Regions from separate parts of the Homo sapiens genome. Here regions 2, 3, 4, 5, 6 and 7 are each linked to region 1. The links are contacts of gene promoters, found by promoter capture Hi-C in blood cells and fetal thymus (Javierre and others, 2016). All regions are on one chromosome and are shown on one strand. Each heading gives the region's core, a stretch centred on a gene start or on the middle of the fragment in contact. The rest is flanking DNA. Distances are from core to core; before and after follow the strand shown.

The links. The method cuts DNA at HindIII sites, captures the fragments that hold promoters and counts their contacts. A CHiCAGO score of 5 or more calls a contact.
Region 2: a fragment that was not itself captured here is called in contact with the fragment with the promoter of OLR1 in region 1 in 1 of 17 cell types (naive CD8 T cells); the score reaches 5.0 in naive CD8 T cells.
Region 3: a fragment that was not itself captured here is called in contact with the fragment with the promoter of OLR1 in region 1 in 1 of 17 cell types (neutrophils); the score reaches 5.7 in neutrophils.
Region 4: a contact is called between a fragment that was not itself captured here and the fragment with the promoter of OLR1 in region 1, in 3 of 17 cell types (monocytes, neutrophils and M1 macrophages). The highest score is 7.9, in monocytes.
Region 5: a contact is called between a fragment that was not itself captured here and the fragment with the promoter of OLR1 in region 1, in 2 of 17 cell types (monocytes and neutrophils). The highest score is 5.5, in monocytes.
Region 6: a fragment that was not itself captured here is called in contact with the fragment with the promoter of OLR1 in region 1 in 1 of 17 cell types (naive B cells); the score reaches 5.5 in naive B cells.
Region 7: a contact is called between the fragment with the promoter of KLRF1 here and the fragment with the promoter of OLR1 in region 1, in 2 of 17 cell types (activated CD4 T cells and neutrophils). The highest score is 7.4, in activated CD4 T cells.

What each region holds. Positions count from the first base shown.
Region 1 is chr12:10,170,785-10,174,630 of GRCh38, forward strand. It overlaps OLR1 (oxidized low density lipoprotein receptor 1), which reads right to left and starts at 1,348. Exons shown (of 6, transcript NM_002543.4): 1 at 1,218-1,348. The coding sequence starts at 1,293. It also overlaps a transcript of TMEM52B not described here. The HindIII fragment of the contact is 3,279 bases long and covers 1-2,139 here.
Region 2 is chr12:10,654,272-10,658,117 of GRCh38, forward strand. The region is part of intron 1 of STYK1 (serine/threonine/tyrosine kinase 1); the gene reads right to left. Among named protein-coding and RNA genes, the nearest start is that of STYK1, 18 kb to the right of the region's middle. The HindIII fragment of the contact is 515 bases long and covers 1,489-2,003 here.
Region 3 is chr12:9,700,454-9,704,299 of GRCh38, forward strand. LINC02390 (long intergenic non-protein coding RNA 2390) reads left to right here and starts at 2,931. Exons shown (of 2, transcript XR_931347.3): 1 at 2,931-3,704. It also overlaps a transcript of CLECL1 not described here. RefSeq lists an enhancer at 1,719-1,768. The HindIII fragment of the contact is 3,890 bases long and covers 1-3,558 here.
Region 4 is chr12:9,749,634-9,753,479 of GRCh38, forward strand. CD69 (CD69 molecule) reads right to left here. Exons shown (of 5, transcript NM_001781.2): 5 at 2,853-3,846. Among named protein-coding and RNA genes, the nearest start is that of CD69, 9.3 kb to the right of the region's middle. RefSeq lists an enhancer at 1,080-1,374 and a silencer at 1,835-1,914. The HindIII fragment of the contact is 472 bases long and covers 1,713-2,184 here.
Region 5 is chr12:9,789,733-9,793,578 of GRCh38, forward strand. No RefSeq gene overlaps it. Among named protein-coding and RNA genes, the nearest start is that of CD69, 31 kb to the left of the region's middle. The HindIII fragment of the contact is 2,133 bases long and covers 698-2,830 here.
Region 6 is chr12:9,808,428-9,812,273 of GRCh38, forward strand. It overlaps a transcript of KLRF1 not described here. Among named protein-coding and RNA genes, the nearest start is that of KLRF1, 17 kb to the right of the region's middle. The HindIII fragment of the contact is 590 bases long and covers 1,672-2,261 here.
Region 7 is chr12:9,825,521-9,829,366 of GRCh38, forward strand. It overlaps KLRF1 (killer cell lectin like receptor F1), which reads left to right and starts at 1,961. Exons shown (of 6, transcript NM_016523.3): 1 at 1,961-2,109. The coding sequence starts at 2,025. The HindIII fragment of the contact is 7,114 bases long and covers 1-3,478 here.

The DNA.
Region 1 (3,846 bases), core at 98-2,597:
CACTCTTAAATAATGAAAAACTAAATTTTTAGAGGAAAAAGAAAATCACAGGACCCTGTGAAGGAAGGTATGTGTTCCCTTTTTCTATAGATTCTCTTTGTCCTGTGTCCTTGGTAGGCAGAGACCATTAATCCAACTGCTGCCCCTACTAGTGATTTTCCAATCATAAACCAATCCGATTCTTTGCAGTAGGTACCGATCTAACCAAGATTCTGAAAGAAAAATCAATCTCATGATTATTGTAAAATTCAGACCCTCAATATTTACTACACAAATAATGAATGAGTAAAGAAACGAATGACTATTGTTCACTTCTGGTTTTACCTATAAATATCAGCAGTTTTTATAGCAATTTAGTTCATTGGCTCAAATGTTAAATCACTCCATGCTCACACTTATGTTCTCTATTGAGAGAAATTTCTGTTTTGTTTTTGGAAATGTAATTTGGAATTTCTTTATCCAAATTTCTGACAATACTTGTCTCTCTTTCTCTCCTTATATTCTGTTCATTTTCCTCAGAACAGATATAGAATAAAAGGCAATTTACCCAGATTGTCTGTGGAATTGGGATTATGAATTAATTTATAGCTATGCAATTTAATTACTGTATGGGTCAAACAGAACTTACAATTTTTCAAAGCAGTAGTACACAACAAAATGTAACTTATGCTAAACTATACTGAATATCATTTACTTTGCCTGCATAATTCATGAGGTACTTCAGGTTTTTGTAGTGCCTGAAGGACTCTTACAGAAATTATCGTTATATACACCAGATAAATTTGGTTCCCGAGCCCTCCGATGTATAGAATTCTGGATAAATGGGAGTTTGTGGTACAGTCCTAGCTCTACCACTTATTAGCTCCGTGAAACTGGATGATGTTGTTAGTCCTCCTGATGCCCAGTTAGCTCTCTGTAAAAGGGAGATAGTAATAGTACCAATCTCAAAATGTTATTGCGAAGATTCTGAGAAATAATACTCTGAAAGTGAATAACATATAGAATAACCTGTAGTAAATACTCAGTATAAATTGTTATAAATAAGTTGTCATCATCATCATCATTATAGCCTTCTTGTTTTTCTTTTAAGTAAATGGTATTAATTCTATTTTCCCATACTTGGGTGTTTAGCTTTCTAATCCCATTCTTCGGTGAATTTACATTTTGGGGCTAACACTGGGATTCTTTCCCTGTACACATTTTCCCATCCCTAGTACCTTTAGCTTTTTTTCCATTTGACTTCTCATCAGGCTGGTCCTTCACAGTCTGGATCTTTAGGTCATCAAAAGTCATTTCCAAATTCAAGCTAAGAATGAGAGAGTGAAGCAGTCACGAACTTCAACAAACTAAAAATATGTGAGCTTCTGCAGAAGTATTTAAATAGCTACTGTTATCTAATAGAAGAATGACTCAATCATTGGTAGGAGGAAGGAGAGGCTTTGCTTCATATTGGGAAGTTCGCTGACGCAAATTCTTGAGTTATGTGTATTGCAGGTGGAGAAAGTGGTGATTCTGAAGGTGTTTCAGGATATTTCGCTAAGTAATTTATGAAAGGGAAAACTATTTTTCATGAGCATCAGAGGAGAGATATTGTACCCACTCTTCAGAGACAGAAACTGAAATTCAAAGAGAGTAAGTCACACTACATTTGTAAAAAATGTGCCAGAATTATGGGCCAAAATATTTGATTCCAATGTTTGTTTGCTAATTTCATTAGCAGACTGTTTCTATATGGTGTCTTTTACGAATCAGATATATTCTCTTTTGATTTTCACTGTTTTATCTGGCAATGGATCTAAGAATTTTGGGGTGAATCACATATGGCTCCCATTTCCAGCGATGGTGTGTCCTGGGTGATTTTAGAATTTATCTGGGGCTACTAGTTCATGCAGTGCCAGTGTAACGTAGCAGCAGAGAGCACTTTGAATGCAGAAAGAGCTAGTTTCAGTACTTTCCTTTAGTCTACAATCTTGGGAAATCTTAATACTTTGAATCTATGTCTTTGTCTGGAAATTAGGGATAATGTCTACCTGATAACATTGTTATAGGAATTCAAATGACATGTCTGGAAATTAGGGATAATGTCTACCTGATAACATTGTTATAGGAATTCAAATGACATGCTGGGTAAAAATAATAAGCTTTTTTACACTAGGTTTGTGAAAAATGTCACGTTGCTATAGGAATTCAAATGACACGCTGGTTAAAAATGACAAGCTTTGTACTTGGAGCATAATAAGAAGCCAATAAATAATAATTATTAGTATAGTACTAATATTCAGCACAGTTGAATTACCCATCAAATAATGTATTTCAGTAAAATCCATGATTGACTCATGTCACAAAGACGCTTACATGAGAGACCCATAAGTATGTCTATATGTATTTACTGATAGAATACTTTTCTATTTTCCCTTGACAACCTCCTAACCAGATATATATCTATTAGAGATGTCTTCTGAAGGAAGTATTTATAAGCAAAATGATATGATATCTGGCATTTACTTTAAATTACTCCAGGAAAAAAAAGTGCAAAGAAAAGAATACACAAAGGAAGAATGGAAAAATAAATACATAAATAAAACATATAGGAAACTATTAGGAAAAATTACCAATATTGACAGCCTAATTAGGATTCCATTTCCCTCCTCCTCCCTGTTTCCTATATTCCTTTTATTATGTGCAGAGTATTTGAGAACAAATTGAAAAAGTTGGCCAGGTGCAGTGGCTCATGCCTGTAATCTCAGCACTTTGGGAAGCTGAGGGGGGGGGTGGATCACTGAGGTCAGGAGTTCGAGACCAGCCTGGCCAACCTGTTGAAACCCTGTCACCACTAAAAATACAAAAGTTAGCTGGGCCTGGTTGCAAGCCTATAATCCCAGCTATTTGGGAGGTGGAAAATGAAAATGCTTTTCATTTTCAGTGAGCTGAGATTGTGCCACTGTACTCCAGCCTGGGCAACAGAGCGAGACTCCCTTTAAAAAAAAAAAAAAAAAAGAATTAAAAAATACTGAAACGATATCACACTGAAAAGGGCACATTATCATTTCTACAGTGACTCAGTTATTTTGGATGCCATGAATATTATAGAACATAAAGTGTTTACCATTTCAACCATTTTTAGGTGTACTGTTCAGTGGCATTAAGTACATTTACATTGTTGTGCAGCCATCACCACCATCCATCTCCAGAACTTTTCATCTTCCCCAACTGAAACTCTATACCCACCAAGCAATAACTCCTGTGATGGTGAATTTCATGTGTTTTGTTTGTTTGTTTGTTTGTTTGTTTTTGAGATGGAGTTTCACCCTTGTTACCCAGGGTGGATTGCAATGGCATGATCTCGGCTCACTGCAACCTCCGCCTCCTGGGTTCAAGCAATTCTCCTGCCTCAGCCTCCTGAGTAGCTGGGATTACAGGTGCCCGCCACCCCTCCCGGCTAATTGTTTTGTATTTTCAGTAGAGACAGGGTTTCACCATGTTGGCCAGGCTGGTCTTGAACTCCTGTCCTCAAGTGATCCGCCTGCCTCAGCCTCCCACAGTGCTGGGATTACAAGCGTGAGCCACCGTGCTGGCCTTCTGTGTCTTCTTGACTGGGTCATGGGGTTCCCAGACAGGATGCTTTTAAATGAGATTAACATATTAATCAGAAGAGGAAAGTAGATTTCGCTGCATAATGTAGGTGGGCCTCATCCAAAAGTTGAAGGCCTAAAGAACAAAAAGCTTCTAACCTTCCCCCAAATAAGAAAGAATCCCCCAGCTGTCTATGGACTGGAACTCAGCCATCAACTCTCCCAGTTCTCCACTCGCTGGCCGAGTCTGGCAGCCCACACTCCAGATTTTAAA
Region 2 (3,846 bases), core at 496-2,995, 480 kb after region 1:
ATAACTAAGTATACTCAGTCAAGTAGCCCACACTGCTGCTCTGCCTGTGGAGTAGCCATTCCTTTTTTCCTTTACTTTCTTAGTAAATGTGCTTTCACTTTACTCTATGGAGTCACCCTGAATTATTTCTTTAGCAATATCCAAGAACCCTCTCTTGGGGTCTGGATTGGGACCCCTTTCCAATAACATCTTCCTGGAAACCATGAAGGGACTATACTGAGGAGAATCCTATGGACCCAAAGGAAATAGACCACAGCACTGCCAATTGGCAGACTTTAGGTAAGGGGCGGGGTATGTTTTGCCCAGGTAAAGGATCAGATTGGGTTAGAGGTCCAACTTAGGAGAGTCTCTCCTAAGACAGAGAGGGTTAAGGCCCCTCCTAATAAAAGGCAAGGATGCTTAATGAAACTTGAGTTTGAGGCCCAATTTAGAAAGGTTAGAGTCCTTCCTAAGATTTAGGGATTAGAGGCCCCTCTCAGTAAAGTCCTTCTTGGTTAAAAGTGGATTTGACACTATGGGATGTTAACTGCTATTCTCTTTGGATTAATCTGCCTTGCACTCTTTGCTGACAGATATGGATGACAGGAATAGGCATGTACAGGATCACCAGACACGGGGAGCTTTTTTCTCCCCAAAGTGGGAAACTTGAGAGCTGACTGGACTGCTAGAAAAGATCCTTCACTACCTAGTCTCTCTGAGCTCCTTGCCTTCCCCACCCCACTGTAGGCAACACTTTTATCCCTTCCCTTTCCTCCCTCTCTGTACAAACCAGTTGTAGGAATGGTAGAAATCACTCTCTTGCAACGTTTTAATTAATGAATAAAAGGATTCATGAGGCTAGTCTTAATGCTGTAGTGAATCTGGTGTATTTTGTGCTTTGAATTTGTCTTTCTGTGTTATTCTGTCATAAAGGGGAGGTACCTTGGGATAGAACACAGGCTTGGGACTCCATAAGCTAGATAGGGTTTCTCTCTCATCTTGTTTTATATCCTTGGGAGCTTGACCTTGTAACCATGTGGCAGTACTTTCTCTTAGTTTCTGCCATCCAGAGGACAGCAATTTTGGAGTTTATGACAAAGTTAGCTCTAAAAATTGTTTTGAGCAGTTAAAAGCCTTCATTGGCTCAAAATTGTCTGCTCCAGGCTCTTTCTGAGAAGGCAATGGAAACTTCCCAATGCTGTAGCTTAGTAGCTAAGGCTTTGCCTTTTCACAATGGCATCCCTGGTTCAGCGTTCAATTTCTGGTTTAGGGAATGAGTACTTTCAGGTTGATATTGGTGTGATCTTTGCCATTTGTTGATTTTATCCCCTCCCCCCATGAACAACTTCTATCTTCCCTTCTTGAATCTTCCTTTCTCTGAGGCACCTTGTAGACTCTAAATCTTGTAAAAACTGCTAATCATCTCTTTTAAAATACTGGTACACTTGTGATTAAGTCATAACCTTAGTGAAAGCTTACTGGTTTCATCTGGGAGGTTACCTTTGGTAAAGCTTAAAAGCCAGAAAAATGGATTGTGTGGCCTGGCTGAAGTCAGGTAATAAGAGATTTAAAAGCATTTTTGAAGTGCTATGGTTAAAAGTCAGCTTTAATTAAAAGAAGATATATGAGCTATACGTATATTTAAAAGGTTTTTATGTTTTTTCTCTTCTTGGATCTTATTTCTCTGAGGAAAAAGTTTTTTTCTTCTCAGTTGACTAAATTGTTGATAGGGTTTGGCTATGTCCCCACCCAAATCTCATCTTGTAGCTCCCATAATTCCCATGTGTTGTGGAAGGGACACAGTGGGAAATAACTGAATTATGGGGGCAGATCTTCACCATGCTGTTCTTGTGATACTGAATAAGTCTCGTGAGACCTGATAGTTTTAAAAGTGGGAGTTTCCCTGCACAAGCTCTCTCTCTTTGCCTGTCGCCCACAGGCAAAAGACATGGCTTTCTCCTCCTTTTTGCCTCCCACAATGATTGTGAGGCCTCCCCAGCCACGTGGAATTGTAAGTCCATTAAAGCTTTTCTTTTGTAAATTGTCCAGTCTCAGGTATGTCTTTATCAGCAGCATGAAAATGGATGAATACAGGGCTGAGTGCGGTGGCTCACACCTGTAATCCCAGCACTTTGGGAGGCTGAGGCAGGTGGATCACGAGGTCAGGAGATAGAGACCATCCTGGCTAATATGGTGAAACCCTGTCTCCACTAAAATACAAAAAATTAGCTGGGCATGGTGGTGGGCACCTGTAGTCCCAGCTACTTGGGAGGCTGAGGCAGGAGAATGGCATGAACCTGGGAGGCGGAGCTTGCAGTGAGCCGAGATCACGTCACTGCACTCCAGCCTGGGCGATAGAGTGAGACTCCATCTCAAAAAAAACAAAAAACAAAAAACAAAAAAACAAGGGATTAATACAATTGTTTTTCTCCGTTTTATCTTCTTGCCACTCTTGATACACATGAGGGGATCTAAGATAATTTCTAACAGCTTGAGACTCCTTGGGAAAAACAGAGGAGTTGCCACAGATCCTGTTTTGGAAAAAAGCCTCTGTTTTCCTTATGAAACCACTAGAATTGAAAGGGGATAAATAAATCCCTCTCAAAATCTAATGCTTTGTTTCATTTTGTATTGTGTTATCTGACAGTTTTGACTTTTGTGGGTATCAGAAATTACTTCTTATTATGAGAGAGCTTTGGTTTGTAATAACTAGGTAGGAAACATACTTTTAGGGATGGCTAATGGAAGTTATGGGGGATACTTAACTCTTTGCATGTTTGGATCAGAGAAGCATACTCTTGACCACCTGGAAGATACTGGAAGTGTCCCCATTGCCACACTGAGAGATAAGAGTTCCATAGGAGGTGGGCTGATTTCCTCTTTTTTGGGATCCAAGATCTGGTATAAAAATGGGACCCTTAAATTTTTGAAATCTGTTTTGCCTTCCAGCTGTGCCTGCCTATTAGGCTCTAGAAATTGCATGCTTTCCTGGCCCTGTTCCTCAAAGGGCTCCTCCCTGAAGCCAGTAATTCAATTAAGAAACTTAAAAATTGGCAAATGAAAAATCTTACAACTACTGGATCTTCTGTCTGTTGTGTAGTCATATGTGTTGTATGTGTAACATTTATATATGAAAGAGCTCTGATTAATTGGTTTAAAAATAATAAGCACTTAAATATTTTGTCAGAAAAATAAAAACTGTAATGCTTTTTAGTTCATGTGACTTTAGGAAGCTTTGGGAAATAAAGACAGTTTTAAAGATTATTGGTAAAATAAAAATGTCTTCCAAATTTAGACATTTGGTCTAAATTAGGCAGATCAGATAATTAGATTTGCTAAATACTTTAAGGTCATAAACTGCTTATTTGACTTTTGAAAATTGTTTGGTATACCTGCTTTAGAGCCATTAGATTCTAGATAAGTCCTGGGGATATGTAGAATTAGACATGCCCCCTGGCAATGCTGGAAAGAATCAGACCTTATCTTGTACTTCTCTCTGGTGTCCTAGGCTTCACACCTAGTACCTAATTAAAATCACTTACTTACCAGGTTTTGCACCAAAAATAAAAGTTGCTAAGAGTTAACATTGTAACATATAATTGAGACTACTGGAAAAACAGTTTTAACATGCAAGGTGTGTAAGGAAAGTGAAATGTGTTTTTGGTAAAAGATTATAAGAAGGCATGGGAATGTGAATTTTTTTTAGCCTAGTTTAGAAGGCTAAGGGGTTCTAAGTTAAGTTATCCTCACTTAAAAGTTAGGATGAAGCTGAAAATTTGAGCAAATTGTGGAAGATTTGTGAAAAATTAATCTTGTGAAGGAAATTCTGTGTGAACATATCGGCTAAAGTTAAAGGGGTCTTATTCA
Region 3 (3,846 bases), core at 364-2,863, 470 kb before region 1:
TTGACATATAAAATTAGCCATCACACTTCACTTGACAGTTTTAAAATTAGGTTGTTTTTTCCAAATGACAAAAAGCAGGAGCAAACTGCAAGTGCTCCTGCAACACATCTAACAAGAAAGCCTTATCTGACTTTTATGAGGTTCGGTATAATGCCCAAACTGCATATTTCAAACTCTTGCCATCAGATTCACCTAAGAAGACAAAAGATCTATTGCCTTTGAACCTACATTCCCAAAGCGTGCAACATGAACTTGCCTACATCCAAGGGGTAGGACCTTCTTACGTAGTGAATTCCCAAAGTGTTGCTGAAATTATGAACAGTGCTCTGCCTCATACTGACAAGTGAAACCTCTATCTCTGATTGCCCAAAAATGTCTAATGAAGCTATAGCATCACTACAATTTGGAATAGACACTTAATCCAGAATTGAAGAGATATAGATAAAAATGAACTGAGTGCAATGCCAAGAGATAGGATAAATATGGCCCCCTCCAAAAAAAGATCCTAAGTCCATGACAGTGGTGCTAGAGATTTCTCACAAAACTCCAAGGAGTAAAACAAGAAACTATAAAGACAGATGGAGAACCACATGTTATGGTACATCATATAAACAACGAAGAGATGGTAGTCAATTGTGTAAGAATCTCGAAGTTGTTGGGTTCAAATAAAGAGAATTATGAAATGAAATAAGTATCCAATTAACACAGGAAATAATATGAACAATGGGGTTAGGAGAACAGAGATCAATGTAAGAGATGTTTCCAAAAGTAATGATGTTGTCATGGAAGTTGGCAGATGATCAAATTATCAGGTATGTAAAACTGATCATGAAGGTGTTCCAAGGAAATTACTCTAATTGTTTCATCAATATTGAACCCAAAATTAAATCAACCCAAACATAGAAAAGGAAAAAAAAAAAGGCAAAAGGCACAGTGTAATGATGCTCTCTTTACTCCTTTGGAAGGGATTGATAAAATTGCAACTACTTCTTGTATAAAGAATCATCCATTTTATAGATGACTACAAATTCAATCCTAAACCTTCAAATACAATGAAAAGAAAGTATGTACTGAGAGCTGGAATGACTACTCACCTAGGCCAAAGTCTCACCTAGGAATGAAGCATCAGGCACACAGTGCACTGAGCATGGCTGAAGGTGCATTGACTAATCTTCTAAAACCTACTCCAGAATGAGAGAGACTGGTACAACTCCATTTGTGCTAAATTTGGAGATATAAACAATATTTTGGAGTTAAAACCTAGAAGTTTTCAAATCTACATAAAAAATCAATTTCTTTTTTTTCTTGCAAAAGCAGAAAAGATGAGAGGACATTGGCACCTGCCAAGAGTGTTGATGAAATGGGGTACTTCCCTGGCCTCTTTGCAGGAGTTGCAAAGGGGTTGGCTTGTTTACTCAGCCCACAGCTCTCAACCCCTCATGGGAGGGGAAACTCACAGGTGAGTGGGTGTAGGGATCAGGATGAGGGCTTCTGTGTGCCAGCAGGAGTAGAACTCTGTGCTGCCCCATGGCAACATCTAGGGGAGTTCCCATGACCCCTCAAGCCCCAGAGGGTGAGTGTTACAGTGTGCTCTTTTAGCTTTTCTATCCACAGATGACAAGTATTTAACAGCTCAGTGGAGGGTCAGGGTGACAGCCTTTTGGACCTGCCTTCTTGGTACCTCAGTTCTTGTTTAGCGTCCAGGAAGAATCAGGTCATGCAAACAAATTGAAGGGTAGTGAATGTGGAGGATTTTATTGAGGGATGGAAGTGGCTCTCAGCGGGATAGGGAGCTGGAAAGTGGATGGAATGGGAAGGTGGTATTCCCCTGGAGTTCAGACAAACTCTTCTCCGAGGTCCCACCATCAAGCTGTCCCTCTGAGCTCAAACTGCTTCTCTCTGACATCCGGCTGCTTCTTCTTTTCTTTCTTTCTCTGTCACTCTGCTATTCCGCTGCTCTGCTGCTCTGCCACTCTGGTGATGGGGCCTGTGGTTTTTATGGGTAGAGGATGGGGTGTGGGGTGGGCCAAAAAGCAACATGTGAGTGGGAAAGCAGGAAATGCATGTTCTCATTTTGGTCTGTGATCCCAGGCTTGAGGATGTGTGGCTCTTGCTTGGGACAGCCCTCTTCTGCCCAGTATTTCCCTGCTTCCCACCCATATCACCAACACTGCTCCTAACCCTACTCAAAAGGTACATTAAAATATAGAGGTGGAAAGTTATATGCTGCTTCTCTCAGAGCAAACCCTTTCTCTCTTATGTAAAATAACTAACTTTCCTCCACAGCATAATTTAAAAAGAAAACTAATGATGACATTAGTCAGAAATCTGTAGACATCTCTACTCCTCTAGTAACTCTGAAAACTGGGTCTGCTAATGAGTTGGTAGCATTAAATCTGAAGACTGAAAGTTTTCTATTCTGTTCCTTCTCTTTTTACCCTTACTTTAGTGGAACAGTAAATTTCAGTAAAATCAGTGAAGGTGTATCTGCCAAGGTTCCAATCAACACAGAGGAAGAGAAGACTTGTTCTATAACTAAACTAGTAGACAACCCAGAAAAATTATCTCTACTTATAATAAACAGAAATCCTAATTACTGCATCCAACTACCTGACCATCATTCATTTTTAAGAGACAGAATTTTTAACGTTCCAAAGTTCTCACCCAAAAGAGATCTGACAGTTTCTGACTGCAATCCATTCTGGAGAAGTTGCTACTAAATTGAATAGAGTAAAGTTATTGTTCCTTTAAATACAATATCTATGAATGGACAATCAAGATTTATGTCCCTTAAGGCATAAGACAGCTGTTAAATGTTGTTCCTCCATTGTACTAATCAACTTCATACTACTGGAGGATATTTGTAAAAAATATTTATATATACACACATACACACACACTCTTAAAATAATTTGTGCTAGGTTATTTATTTATTTATTTATTTATTTATTTATTTATTGAGACAAGGTCTCACTCTGTTGCTCAGGCTGGAGTGCAGTGGCATGATCATAGCTCACTGCAGCCTCAGCTTCCCAAACTCTGGCGATCCTCTCACATCAGCCTCCCAAGCAGCTGGGACCACAGGCATGTGCCATTATACCTGACTAATTTTTGAATTTTTTGTAGAGACAGAGTTACACCGTGTTGCCAAGGCTGGTCTCAAAATTTTGGGGTCAAACAATCTACCTGCCTTGGTCTTTCAAAGTGCTTGGATTATAGTTGTGAGCCACTGAGCTCAGCCTGTCCTAGGTCTTTTAATGTCAAAAGAACACTTGCCCGCATATATATATATATGTATACATATTTGTCATTTCTTTGTCTTAAAACTGGAATATCCTGCTTTAAAACTTTAAGACAAAGTGTAAATGATTTTCTTTTTTTAATGAGAAATAGTCACCTTTTGTCAATTTTATTTGCTGATTTTATTGACTTGCGTATTCTACAGTGGAGACCTCAACATATTCTATGTATTGTGTTTTAGTAGCAAGGTGAACATATGTATGATATTTTCCACCTTAATGTTACTCTTTAATTGAATACATTTATAAGTTACATTAAAGCTTATTTTATGTTGAAAGAAGGAGCTAGAAAACTAGTGATGTTAAACAATGTGTTAACATTTATTTTCAATGATGAATCATTTAGTTTACAAGACATATCTTGTATTTTCTTTAGGTAATTGCCAAATCAGAGTCAAATTTATGGTAAGTTCATAGTACTTTAATATTTTATTAATATGAAATACTTGATTTTTACATCTTTAGAATTTTAATTGCACAAGGAGAACTTCCAATAAATATTTTCTGTATATAATTATGACACTTTCTTCACAAATATTACATATTC
Region 4 (3,846 bases), core at 699-3,198, 420 kb before region 1:
ATACATAAATGTTCTTCATTATTTTTTAATGTTGGGATAGCATTTCATCATGTAGGAGCATTATATTTATTTAACTAAATCTTTGGTTTTGGACAATTAGGTAGCTTCTGATTTTTCACTACTAGAAATATCCCTTTGATAAACATTTTTGTGGTTATGTCTTGCACATCCAAGATTATTTCTTTAAAATCTCCCTCCCTCCCCAGTAAGTATTGTCAAGCTGCTTTCCAAAGGGTAAAGGAAACCAGTTTACACCATCACCAGCAGTCGTTCTGGTCATATATTTCCCAATATTTTTCCCTGAAAAATCATTTACATTTTAATTTCAGTTATAATACATTTTCATGTGCAAAATCTAATCAAATTATGAAAATTGACAGCAAGCTTAAAAATATCATTTCTATATTAGTATCATACAATTTTTAAGTAGTTGAATACTGACTATAGCACCTAACAGTTCAATGGCATTTTAGCCTTTTTAAAAAGTTTTATCCAATCCCTACAATTATGTGAAATGTGCAGCTGATGTATTCCCCTTTCCAGAGGAAGAAATTGAAATTATGTTGAAAAAGCAACGCAAAACACGGATAACTGATAGTTTTATTTTACACATATTTATGTAACTATCCAAGATGAATGTAGCCTACAGAGTTAAAATTTTGATAATTAGCTAAAGGTTTGAATACAGGAGTATATCTTTAATATGCTTCCATAGCACCCTACGTTTTTCCTATTATAACATTCATCACACCATGTCAATTCATCTTGTTGTTTGTTTTACAAATAGACCACGAATTCCACAAGGCCAGTTGCCATGCGGAATTTGCTGAGTATTTTAACTCTGGTGTCCACCATAGTAGTAGGTGCTTACTTATAACTTGTGAAATGAAATTTTTAAAAGGCTTTCCAAAAACAAATACAAATAAGATATATTACGTAGAAATAGACATGTCGTGTAGAAACGCGGCTTTATGCCAATACTGGAAGTTTGAAGACATAGTGTTTCTAGTTCTAATAATCATCATGAGTATTTAATACATGCCTATGGTGTACTAGGGAGCCAGATAATGTTTTAAGTTTGTTTTCATGTACTAACTAATTTAACATCTAACTAATTTTAGCTGAATTTTGAACGAGTTCTGATAAAATAGCTAGTCAGCCCGCGCGTGGCAGAGATGAAACTCGGGCGGTCTGGCCCCCGTGCTTTGGGTCTCAGCAGCTCCACGCTCCACATAGATGTTTTGTAGGATCCTTAAAACAGAAGTGCAGTAATCTCGTATAACCACTAGATGGCACTGCAACTTTTGTAACAGGGGACTTAGCCGGGGGCAGGAGGGGTTCTTGAGACAAACCCATTTTTTATATTTGTCATTGGTCACTTGCAAGTAGAGTCATACTTTAAATAATAACATTATTCCCTTTAAGAATTGTATATTTTTTATCTATTTAAAGAAAACAGTTGTCCTTATGAATAAAATGACTTCAAATTATGTGTAAAAAATAACTCTGTTATCCGTGTTTTGCGTCGCTTTTTCAACATAATTTCAACTTCTTCCTCTGGAAAGGGAAATACATCAGCTGCTCATTTCACATAATTATAGGGATTCAATAAAATTATTTGTAAAAATGATAAAATTCATTGAATTGTTAGGTGATACAGTCAGTATTCAATGACTTAAAAATTGTGTCATACTAATATAGAAATATTTTTAAGCTTGCTCTCAATTTTCATAATTTGATTAGATTTATGCACATAAAAATATGTTATAACTAAAATATTAATCGCAAGACATTGTTTTCTAAGATGACTCGGGAGTAGATTGTTGGTAATGATAGAATATTACCGCTAGGAGGCTGCTTGTTTCTTTTTTCCCACAGCTGTGGGAACTCAGGAGCACAGAGGTCATTATTTTTCACTAAGCAGTGTCTGAAATCCACATTTCTGTTTGCCGTTTGCCAATAGTTTAGAGATACCATACACATCATACATTTCCAACAAGCAGAGAAGAATATTGCAAATTACATTTATAAAACAATTTTGAAGGTAATCAAATGTATTAGGCTATTCTTGCATTGCTATAAAAATATCTGAGACTGGGTAATTTATAAAGAAAAAAGGCTTAATTGGCTTACGGTTCTGCAGTTTTTACAAGCATAATGCTGACACTGCTCAGCTTCCGCGGAAGCTTAGGGAGCTTTTATGTATGTTGGAAGGTGAAGTGGAGTGGGAGCAGGCATGTCACATGGAGAAAGCAGGAAAGAGAGAGAGAAAGAGAGAGAGAGAGAGAGAAAGTGCTGCACACTTTGAAAAGACCAGATCTCCTGAGAACTCACTCAGGTGCAAGGAGACCATCAAGAGGATGATGCTAAACCATTCATGAGAGATTCGCTCCCATGATGTAATCACCTCCCACCAGGCCCCACCTCCAACAAAGGGGATTACAATGCGACATGAGATTTGGGCAGGGACACACATCCAAACTACATCATTGAGTTTTTTGCTGATTGAAATATCCCATGAAGATTATGCCTCTTTTCTATATATTGAATTATTTTACATAAATAACTAAAGTGTATGTAGCACCTCAGAATTGAACAAGATACTTTCAGAGCATTGACTATGAGGAGTAATTATTACAGAGCATCTGCTATATACAGAAAAATGGATATGGATACATACACCCTTTAGCATATAAGCATATGAAAACAATTTGATATGTATAAGCTATTATAAAACTAAGGGTTTTACTCTACATGGGATTTTTTCCTAAGTTATAGTAACTGTTTTCTGCTTTCTCATATAGTATATACTTTTTAATGTATTTTGAAGGAATGAACTTTCTTGGAAACCATTGTGTTTATTCTACTTTTATTTCACATATATAAAAACAGCTTATAATTGTACTGAACACAAAATACAAACAAATACATTTTATTGCACATAAAAATATTTTAAATGAAGTATTGAAGTATTGCACGTAATAGAATTGATTTAGGAAAGTCACAAACCTATTATAAGACTAGTATTATTCTAGGTCTGAAGATTACAGAATATTTCCTAATAGAGATTTGCCACATCACATATTGCACATTTTCCAACACTATTCTATGTCTTGCAAATATTCCTCATAGTCTTTGCTTATGTCTTTTCTCTGTAAGACACTGTATAAAAGATTATAAAGGCAAAGAAATATGTACCATCGAAAAGGACCTGTCTACAGCTGAGGAAGTAAAAAAATAAATACATGATCATCCCATTCTTTTTGGGGAAAAATAACAAAGTAAATTGGCAAATTTCTCTAAAAAGAGAGAAATATTACAAATCTTAGTTTCATAAGCATTTGTCCATTTATAAATGCTCCCTGAGTTTAAGGGATTCAATTAGACTAAAAACCTATGTTACCAGCCATAATTCCTTTGTTTACATTCAGTATCTAGTACCAACATCTAACTCCTTCCAATAGTGCAAATGCATGAAGGGCTCTCACTGTTGGTAGTCATTCAGCAATAAATAGTAAGTCCACGCCTAGTTATTTCATTATTTCTGGATTCAAAATAATATAAAGTGCATCCAAAGGTTGCATAGTCATTCTTCTCATTCTTGGGCATGGTTATTGGTCAACCTGTGATGCTTCTAGCTCATGGCAATAAAAGCCCACAGTGCAGATTTTCCTGGAATTTCTTCCTTTTTTTCCATAGTTCTGTTTGGAAGAAAATTCCCAAGACACTATAAAATTTTTTTTCACAAAGTCTCTATGGAAGACTTCGGACCACAGAGCAGCATCCACTGACACAGATTTCCTTGAGTTCCATTCTATAATAGTCAATAAGTGAACATGTTTCCTT
Region 5 (3,846 bases), core at 514-3,013, 380 kb before region 1:
TCATAAGCTCTTTGCCTAACCCAATGTTCAGAAGAGTTTTTCTTTAGGTTTTCTTCTAGAATTTTTATGGTATCAAGCCTCAGATTTAAGTCTTTAATCCATCTTGAGTTGATTTTTGTATATAGTGAGGCATAGGGATACAGTTTCTTTCTTCTACATGTGGCTGTCCAGTTTTTCCAGCACCATTTATTGAATTATTTCCCCAATCTACGTACATTTTGTCAAAGATCAGTTGGTTATAAGTATTTGGCTTAATTTCTGGGTTATCTATCTATCCTGTTCCATTGGCTTACGTATTTAATTTTATACCAGTACCATGCTGTTTTGTTTATGATAGCCTTGTAGTATAATTTGAAGTCAGGTAATGTGATGCCTCCAGATTTGTTCTTTTTACTTAGGATTGCTTTGGCTATTCAGGCTCTTTTTTTGGTTCCATATGAATTTTAGAATTGTTTTCTGTAGTTCTGTGAAAAATGATGTTGATATTTTCATGGGAATTGCATTGAATCAGTAGATTGCTTTGGGCAGTGTGGTCATTTTCATGATATTGATGATCATATTATTATAGAAATTATTAAGAAATTATTTCAGGCAGATAGGATAAGTGGTCCTTGGTAAGGTTTTTTTCTTTAAATAAAAGCAGCTCCAGAAACATTTCTTTTTTAGCAAAAAAATGGCTTGAAGGGCCAAGCCAGCAAGCTTTGATATGCAAATGCTGGCTATTAGAAGCTGGGTCCATCCAATATGGCAAGTCCCACCTTCTTCTCCTTGTCACCACATGTGCCAAGCATCATGGCACCCCCAGAGGTCTCCACTGTGCAGAAAATCATGGCGGCCTGCATTTGCATATTAAAAGACTAGGGTGGGAGAGCCAGTTTTTTTGCAGGCTATGTGAATGACATACTAAGTCAAACCAATCCCCTGGGCCTATAAAAATCAGACACCACCTCCTCCAGCCTTCTAATATAACAGATTGTTTCCACCATACTTGGGGTTTCCTCTCTCTGCTTGGAGCCACCCCCACCCCTCACCGACCCCCCGTCTCTGTAGCTGGGAGCTTCTTCTTTCTTTCTTGCCTATTAAACTCTCTGTTCCTTAAAACCACTCCATGTGTGTCCATGTTGTCTTATCTAAATTGGCGTGAGACAAAGGACTCTGGTGTTCCTCCATTCATTGAAGCTGTATCAATATTTTGTATCATTTCAATGAACTACTATAGGCAGCCCATCCCTTAAGTTTCCCTCTTAAGTTTTTTGGTCAGCTTTTCCTTTGCCCCAGCTGTTATTCCATATTAAGCAGCTGCAATGTACAGCAATAGGTGCTGATTGTTTTTGTCAAATACCCCTAGGGAAAAAGTCATTTGCACTGAGCGAGCTCTGTTTGAGATCAACTAAAGTCGTAGGTGGGAATTTCCAAGATCATGTTTGATAGTTTGAATAATGACAGTACTCTAAGAATAATTTTTGGGACTTCTAAACCCTTTATGGCCCCTCTGAGACCTGTTGGGCTACAGTTCACTACTGCTACTATAGTTGTAAGACCTACTATAGTTTTTCAAGGCTACTGTGAAGCTGAGGAATACGGAATAGGAATAGAGCAAGTTAAATCTCCACAAAGGTCACTGTTTTCAATTAAATTCACCTATTTTCTTGAGTAAATGCTTGCCAGATTTTTGCAAGTCTTTGGTTAATTCACAGTATTCTGAGGAAGTTTGTTTTGACAGTTTTTGTCAATGTTCTTGTTGATTTTATGAAGGAATAGCTTTTTGTAGGTCTTTATTCCACTGTTTCTGCTCATGTCTGGCAAGACAATTAAGCAGGTAATTATGAGGGCATGTAGAACACATCTTGGAGAATTTATTCTCAAGGTGGCATTCTATAAAATTATGTAAATATTTAATCTGAGAAGTGAAAGATGAGACAGTTTTCCAGGTGAATAAGGCAGAGGAAAAACAACAACAACAACAACTTTGTAGACAAGGGTAAAATGTACAAGTCTTAGAGATGGGAGAAAGAATGGTCCACTACAGTGAGACTGAAGAATGGAACAAGAGACAAAGCCAGATTACAGGGTGAAATCAATGCTGTTAAATAGTCTGGAATTATTCTAAGTGCAGAAAGAAAGTAATAAATTCTTATAAATTTGGGACAAATTGCAATTAGATATTAATTTTTGGAAGTTAACAGGTGCAATTTTTGGAAGTTACTCAGTCTAACAGGTGCAAGATGAACTGGAATAAAGGGATACCATAGAGAGATGACTGCCTTTAAGACCAATGCAGTGGAAGTAGAGATGATGGAAAGTTGTTGAATTAAAGACATTACTAGTCATTACAGTCTATGATTTATTAGGTAGGGTCATTTAATCAGAAAAAAATGCAGACAGAGAGTCAAGGATGGCCTTCATGCTTTGATTCCTAAAACTGTGGGCAGTATTCTTTCAAATGAGTCAGAAATTAGGGGGTAAAATTAGATTTAGAAAAGAATCAAAATGATCACTTTTGTTTCTGGAATATGTGGGAGATTGAGTTGGATATTTTAATGGACTTTTGGATATATGCTGCTAGCCCTAAGCAAAGGAGTCTGATCAGGAAAATTTATCTATCTATCTATCTATCTATCTATCTATCTATCTATCTATCCATCTATCTATCTATCTATCTGCATATATGTGTGTATATATGTATATATATGTGTGTGTGTGTGTGTATATATATATATATGTCTTCCTTATCTTTTGATTTAAAAACTGGTTTTCCATTTACAATGGGTGCAATGGTGTGTCTCCACTTTGGACTGAAGCCTCATTGTCTCAGCACCTGGGAGTCAGAAGCTTTCAACTGAATCTTCCTTGTATGGCTCTCAGCTAAACAGAAGTGCCTTCTCAAAGTCACACTTTCTCCCAGTGCCAGATGTATCAAACGGCTGGTTCGTGTGGGAGTATAAAAGCTTGGACTTGTTGCCTTATATCAAGATAAACTTGAAAGGGCACTCACCTCCAGAGCTCCCTATACTGTTAGCTGAAGCCTTTGTGTTACTGCATCACAATTCAATATCTGCCTTTGCCCAATCCTTTCTTTCTCATCCACAGGTACTTAACATCCTTTATGTAATCCTTCATCTGAGAGTCTGTTTTTGAGGAACCTGACCTGTAACACAGCCTGAAGAAATTTGGGGACAAATCCTAGCAAAAAATTGGGATATCATTCTTGATGTATTTATTTTTTGGATGATACATATCATTTTACTCCCTAAGAGCCATACCAATCAATACTACAAAAGAATGAGCAAACGGAATTTCTCTGCAGCCTGTATCTCAACAAGATCTGCTCCTCCAACTCCTTGCATCTGGCATTTTTTGGGGGATAATCATAAGGAATGTTTTGACTCTCTGATAAACACACAGAAATGAACATTTTGTAGGAAACCATAAACATGAGTCATACAGATAAAAAGCAAACATAGTTCTATTTACTGTCATCAGAGTATGTAGATCAATATTTTATTGCATTGGAAGCTTCATCTGCCATTTTTAAAGTAATCATTTCAACCAGGAGGATGGTATATTCTGACTGAAAACCTCCCAGGACCATATTATGTAGGCAAATGATTTTTTCCAAAGAAATAGACAGGAAAGTGGCTGTAAAGACAAAATGTATACCTTTGACTATAGTGGCTAAGGCCGTATCTCTGTGTTTTTTCCATTGACCACATGGTTGGTTTGAGTCATAGGTGTACTGAGTCAAATGGAATTGAATGATAAAATCAAGGAGCACTTTGTATCCAGAAGTACAGCAGAACATATCAAATATTAAATTGATGCATAAAATAGGAAATATCTTTGTTT
Region 6 (3,846 bases), core at 717-3,216, 360 kb before region 1:
CCTAGTTGTAATAACAGGTAACTAGGTTCATGGTAATCATCTATATATCCTAATATGTTAGAAAATATATTCACTTAAAGTTAACTAGCTTAAAGATCAATGACAGGATGGTAAGAAAACAGTAGGCTCAAAAAAGACCCGCATCCTCCCCAAAAGCAGGAGTGAATGCTAACAGTAGTTTCTCCATGTACCACAGAATGCTGCAATCATGCAGCCTTGGTTTGGTAGACGTTTGAATCAAAGAGCTTTAGGCAAGAGTTGGCAGAGTGCAATATTAAAAATATAGTTAGCTAAGTCTTAGTAAATATCCATATGTGTAATATGAGTAAGCAGGCAAGTCATGCTAGAATGACCTCGTATTCTTGGTGTTAAAAGACTTATCACATTAATGGTTTTGGAAAACAATGAATGTATCATGTATATGATTTTCACTGAGATGTATGCCACAGAATGCTATAATATCTACATGAAAGCAGTGCTACCTCAGGTTAGGTGCCATTAGTTAGGAGAGAGATCATTTTCTATATGCCAGAATGTTTTGCATTTCATTCTCTCTTACTCCACATTTTATAAATGCTTAGGTTAATATATTCAATGTATAGATGACATACAACTTGGATATCTAATACACTGAGTAATAGAATCATAAACTCCAAACATTCTGCATTTCGGAGAAAATTGAGAGTTTAGCGAGATGAATTTTTTAAGTGTATTAAAATCTAAACTGAAGAAGTTAACAAGATGGGAAGAATTGCCTTTATTTGTAGATGTATGCAAGAGCACTAGGGGAAATTCAATGACCAACAAGCTCAAAATAAGATTGTGTGAAGTAATGAATTTTAGGTAAAATCAATACAAATATATCTAAAAAGAAAGGGTGGGACTTTTTTCCTCCATTCCTGGCCCAATTCTTTGAAATAATTTTTATGTGATTGTTTCAAACCATCTTAACTTTCTCTTAGTTTTCCTCTGCATACATGCACATATGTAAATGCCTACTTTTAAGAGTACAGATGAGAAAAAACAGGGATTTGAATTAGTTGAAACCGTAACTTAAGTATTATTTCCAGGAACTAAAGCTACTTAGCCAGAATCAGGAAAAGGGCTGCTGGGAATAAGTTTGTTAACGTAAATTGTTCCAACAGCTGTCATATTGATGTTACGCTTAGTTTACTGGCTCCAGAAGGCAGAATTGATACCAATTCTTGAAAGAAGCATCCATATACCCCAGTTAATTTTGATTATGTCATGAGATTTTGTGTAGTATTCAAAGATAAATTGTTATTATTGTTGGAAAAAGCGGGTTACTTAGATTTAAACTTAGGTTAAGAAAATTGATTTAAAAAAATAAGTTCCACTTTCAAAAGTTGTTATTCTATTGATAAATCTGTTTTTTTTAATGCTGCTTTATTTGATGTAAAACTACTGTTTTGAAAATATTGACTGTGCCTATGGATTAATGTATCAAACAAAATCACCCCATGAATAAATCAAATATTTATTTATTTACCTGAAGTATACAAAAGGAGAATGACATAAAGATCAATTAGCAAGGTTGATAAATCTGCAAGAAACAAGCTTCTCAGTCCTAAATTTCATCATTAAATCACTGAAACTCAGAGTTGTGAATGACAACATCTGAATAGTGAGTGTCAACATAGATTTTCTACAAGCTTGAGGGTTTTTATCTAGGAACAATTCTGTTTGTAGGTCATCCTGGATATATTCAAGGGACCATTATTTTTGGTATTATACAATATAACTTGATGTTCTCATAGTCAAATGTGAATGCATTTCTCATACTTTATCTGAATCCTCCCAAATTAACAATGTGGTCCAAGTATATTCCCAAAATTAGAGTTTCTGAGCCTGAACGGAAGTTAAGCTCCCAGAAATCGCAGGTAGCTGTGTTAATAAGTGGTTAGAATAACTAGGGCTTATCTTTTGTGTGTCCTTTGATAAATTTAAACAAATTAAATTCCTCTCCAAGATAGGTCTGATTCACAAACTTAATGACTATATGCTTAAATTTTCACCTATAGTTTAATGAAATGTTTGTTTTTAAAAGATGTTTGAAGTCTAAAATAGACTCCCCAAACAGTGTCTGACATGTAATAAGTCCTCAGAAAATAATTCATAAATATTGAATGACTAGTAGGATATTAAAATGTGGTCATTCCTGCTGTTTACTTTTATCTGAGGGCACAAATGTCAAGAACAATTCTATAGGTGCTAGACCTCCTATATAGGACATGCTAACAAGCTTGCAAAAGTGTTTATTTCAAATTTCGATCTATCATCTACTTTCAGAGCACATTAAGAGTTTATGAGTGTTCAGAGATTAGGAAGTGAGAATTTTTTTTATGAAGTGACTTGCCAGTGTACTTCCCATTTCCCAATATCTTTCTGTGTCAATAAGCAAAAGAACTTCTCTTTTACCTTAAGCCAAGTTTGGATTCTGTCATATATTGGCAAGTGTCCTCTGGGAGTTGGAGGTTGCAGAGGTGAACACTTTCAGTATGTGAGTTTGTTAGAACTACACATAACCACAGAGTAAAAGCAGATGTGTAGATTAAGCCACACTTCCAGCAATGGTGAGGCTGAAGGGAGTGTTTCCTGTGGGCCGGATGAAGATCTCATACAAAGCAGCCATTTGGGAACCATCCTAAAATAAAATTCACCTAAGACTGCTTCTTACCACAGGCAAGTCAGCCTCAATGAAAAGAAGCTGGAAGTATAGAGTAGAAAGCAAAAAAAAAAAAGGTACCTGGGGAGTTGTGAGGGGTGAGGTACAGTGATTTGCAAGCAGGATTGCCAAAGGAGACATCACACATCAGACAACTGCAGAGTACCCCAGGAGCAGAATTTCTGAAAAACCCATAGAAGTAGTCCAAAAAAAAAAAAAAAAAGAGAGAAAACATTTGGAGTGTCAGCATACAGATTAAAACTGTCCAGGCTGGTAACATCTTTATTCCGTGTTTATTTCTATTCCCTTTGTTTCACCTTCACTCATTCTGGGGATCAGGGTTGGGGAATGGAAAGAGATACTAGAGAGGGAAGAAGCTCATGCAGAGCCCGTTATACTCACTTGCCCCCTTAATGGTCCCAAACTAAGCAGATCCAATCCAAGCTGAGAGAGAGGAAAAGTGTTAAATTAGATAAAAGTTGGACTTAAGATATTAGGCGGAATTGGATCTTTTATTATCTTCATTATCAAAAGACCATGAGATCCACAAAGGAAGGAAAGGAGAAGACTTTATTTTCAGAGGGAAAAATAACCCTAGAATTAGGGAAATGCAGCTTTCGGGAAAATCCGAAAGTTCACTCTCTGAAGAAGTGAGAGGGGGCTGGTATACATGTCTTATACAGTCAGTTTTACATACATACTGAGCAGGGTTGGGAAAATTCTGTGAATACTTATGAATATTCATGAAGGAAGTCAAGCACTAGTGCATTGGGTAAGCAGATGTAACATGCACCCCACGGTCACTTTGGGATGGTGTTTTAACATTAAATCGGGTGGAATTTGGCTCTTTACCTCAAAAGGTGAACTATAGCGTACAAAAATAGTTTGTACATAATCTCCACAAGCTGTCTGTAACTGGTTTAAGGTCTGTGGCCATTCATCAATAAAGAATGTTTATAAGATTGGGTCTGGCCGGGCGCGGTGGCTCACGCCTGTAATCCCAGCACGTTGGGAGGCCGAGGCGGGCGGATCATGAGGTCAGGAGATCACGACAATCCTGGCTAACATGGTGAAACCCCGTCTCTACTAAAAATACATAAAATTAGCCAGACGTGGTGGCGGGCGCCTGTAGTCCCAGCTACTCGGGAGGCTGAGGCAGG
Region 7 (3,846 bases), core at 711-3,210, 340 kb before region 1:
AAAATACTTATGTCTAAAACCCCAAAATATAAAAAACCCTGGAAGATAACCTAGGAATTACCATCCTGGACACAGGAATGGGCAAATATTTCATGACAAAGATGCCAAAAGCAATTGCAACAAAAGTGAAACAAAACAAAACAAACAAACAAAATAATTAACTGTAAGAGCTTCTGCACAGCAAGAGAAACTATCAACAGAGTGAACAGATAATCTACAGAATGGGAGAAAATTTTTGCAGACTATGCATTTGACAAAGGTCTAATATCCAGCATCTGTAAGAAACTTAAACCAATCAACAAGCAAAAAATAAACAACCCCATTAAAAAGTGGACTAAGGACATGAACAGATACTTTTCGTGTTTTATTTATCAATCTTAATTTACTTCTTATCCATTTGGAGTGTCAAATAATGGCCAAAGAAATTGTAATTATAAATTAAAGAACAAAATTTAGCAAGTAAAAATAAACAAAAATAACACAAAAATGTATTATCCTTTTACTTTTGTCATTAAGCAACAAATATATTTCTGATAATTTGTCAAATATTTTCTCCTTGAATTAATAGTTTATCTTATTTAAAAGGGTATATTGTGTTTTTAAAATTTTATTTTAAATTTGGGAGTACATGTGCAAATTTGTTACATAGGTAAACTTGTGTAATGGGGGTTTGCTGTAAAGATTATTTCTTCACCCAGGTATTAACCCTAGTACCCATTAGTTATTTTTCCTGATCCTTTCCCTCTTCCCACCCTCTATCCTCCAGTAGGCACTAATCATTAGGGAAATGCAAATTAAAACCACAGTAAGATACCATCTCATACCAGTCGAATGGCTATTATTAAAAAGTCAAAAAATAACAGATGCTGATGAGGTAGTGGAGAAAAGGGTTCACTTATACACCTTTGATGGGAGTGTAAATTAGTTCAACCATTATGAAAGATAGCATGGTGATTCCTTAAAGACCTAAAACCAGAAATTTGACCCAGCAATCCCATTACTGGTATATACCCAAAGGAATATAAATCTATCATAAAGACACATGCATGCATCTGTTCATGGCAGCACTGTTGACAATAGCAAAGACATGCAATCAACCTAAATGCCCATCAATGGTAGACTGGATAAAGAAAATGTGATACACATATACAAAGGAATACTATGCAGCTATAAAAAAGAATGAGATGATGTCCATTGCAGGAACATAGATGAAGCTAGAGGCCGTTACCCTTAACAAACTAATGGAGGAACAGAAAACCAAATACCACATGTTCTCACTAATAATTGGGATCTAAATGATGAGAACACATGTACACATAGAGGAGAATGACAGACACCGGAGCCTACTTGAAGGTGGAGGGTGAGAGGAGGGGCAGGATCAGAAAAACATAACTATGTAGTACTAGTCTGAATACCTGGGTGATGAAATAATATGTACAACAAACCCCTGTGACATGATTTTACCTATATAACAAACCTACACATGTAGCCCTGAACCTAAAAGTTAAAAAAAATCAAATTATACTGTTAAATTATTAGCATGATTTATAAACAATATTGTTTTAGGATAAAGAATTTAATTGCTTGGCAATTGCAAATTATTAAATTAAATATCAATATGTTAGGGAGGCTAATTCAAATGATATAAATATTTAGGCTATAACAAAAGGCAGCTATATATTATTAACCTCACCTCAAAAAGGGGCATAATTTCCATTCCCTTGACTTTAAGGGTAAATTAAGAGAAATTTGTAAAGCACTCAAAAGAATATTCAATTCAATATGTGGTGGACAGTTGAGAAATTATGTGTTATCTATGTCATGGGAAAGCAACTTTTAAAAAGAAAACATTTCCTCTGAGGTTTTCACAAATAAGTGAAACTGTGAACCCTCATATGTACTGTGAAAGGACAATTTGAGGAGCATCTCTGATTAGCAGCAGATTTATTATTCTTTCCTCATTTCATGTTATACTTAATAAAACAAAACATACCTGTATACACACACATTCACTCACATTGAAGATGCAAGATGAAGAAAGATACATGACATTGAATGTACAGTCAAAGAAAAGGAGTTCTGCCCAAACATCTCAACTTACATTTAAAGGTATGGAATTTAATTTCATTTTTTCAATTGGTGTGAATTAACATGGTAGTTTCCCGTATCCTGTTCCATTGTGTTATTGGACTGTTTCAGTATTTGGGTGCTTTTCTTTCTCCGTCTCTGTATCTCTCTCACCTGTCCTCTCTTTCAATATTAATAATGATTTAAAAATAACAACCTCTCTTACCATTTAAGAAACACCAGTTTCCGGCACTATACAGAATGTTTTATCTATGTTCCTTCATTTAATCTTACAAATTTACTATGAGATAATCTCTCTCTCTCCCATTTATCAATGTGGAACTAACACTTACTTGTAATATTTTGTCTGATATAATTTCTTAAGGACATTCTCTGAGGAAATATGCATACTCAATTAAAATTAATAATTTCAAATTAGTGAATATTTGCTGCCATTCACCTCCTTATCATTCATAGAATATGGTGTTTTAATGCTATTTTTTTTTTTTGAGACGGAGTTTCACTGTTGTTGCCCAGGCTGGAGTGCAATGGCATGATCTCGGCTCACTGCAACCTCTGCCTCCCAGGTTCAAGCAATTCTCCTGCCTCAGCCTCCTGAGTAGCTGAGATTATAGGTGCCCGCCACCATGCCTGGCTAATTTTTTGCGTTTTTAGTAGAGATGGGGTTTTACCATGTTGGCCAGGCTGGTCTTGAACTCCTGACCTCAGGTGATCCACCCACCTGAGTCTTCCAAAGTGTTGGGATTATAGGCATGAGCCACCGCGCCCAGCCTTTAATACTAATTTTTAATTCAACTTCTCAAAAACTTTATGCTTTTCACCAAGTTGACTCAAAATAAAGTTTATACACCAGCAATCAACATTTTAATTTGCTACTTCAAGCATACCCTCCATACACAATGCAATTCCATCATGCCACCTTAATGTGATTTGGCAAAAGAGATAAGCAGAAATTAAAGACACAAATAATCACAGTTATAGAGACTGTCTGTTCTGTTCTGTTGCTTTCTAAATATTTCTCTTTTAATAACTTCACCCATGAAAATTTTACTTATCTCTTGAGTCCTTCCACAAGTATCATCCATCAGTGATTCATCTTAGAGTTACATACGTGCTATGTATAAGAAATTTATTGCCTCTTCCATGTGAATTTTTAGATTCCCATATTTTCAAGTCTTTACTTCCTACACTCAATTTTTATTTCATTTTTGGAAATTAGAGATATTAAACCTGAAAGACTACAACATGTAGTGACTTCTCTGCAGACTTTTTTCCACACTCTGTTCATAAATGTCTCTCTGAAGCAAAAATGTGCAGATTTTCGGCTCCCAGATATTTAAGTGACACATACTAATATTTATGTCTTGTACCTTTAGCTAATATTTATTAAAGCTTGAGGTAAGACGTATTTTATGTGAATTAGATTGACAATGTGAGCCTTGGGGTTATGATGTTCATTCATTTAACTTAATTTTGTGATGACATATTTGTAAATCTTTTCTCATATATTGAAAAACCTTTGTTGCCAGTGATAGTAAGAAATTACATAATTGCTCTATCCCACTATACATATGTAGTAGTTTCAGAATCACTATAGAAATAATATTATAATAATAGTTACTTAAAACAGATTAAAATGTTTTGCGGTTTTAAAAAATCCTTAAGATATATTCCATTGAGCATGCACAGTTAAATGTTTTAAAATCACTTTAAGTAATTCCTCTCTCTATAGTGAAGACACTAACAATACCTAGTTAG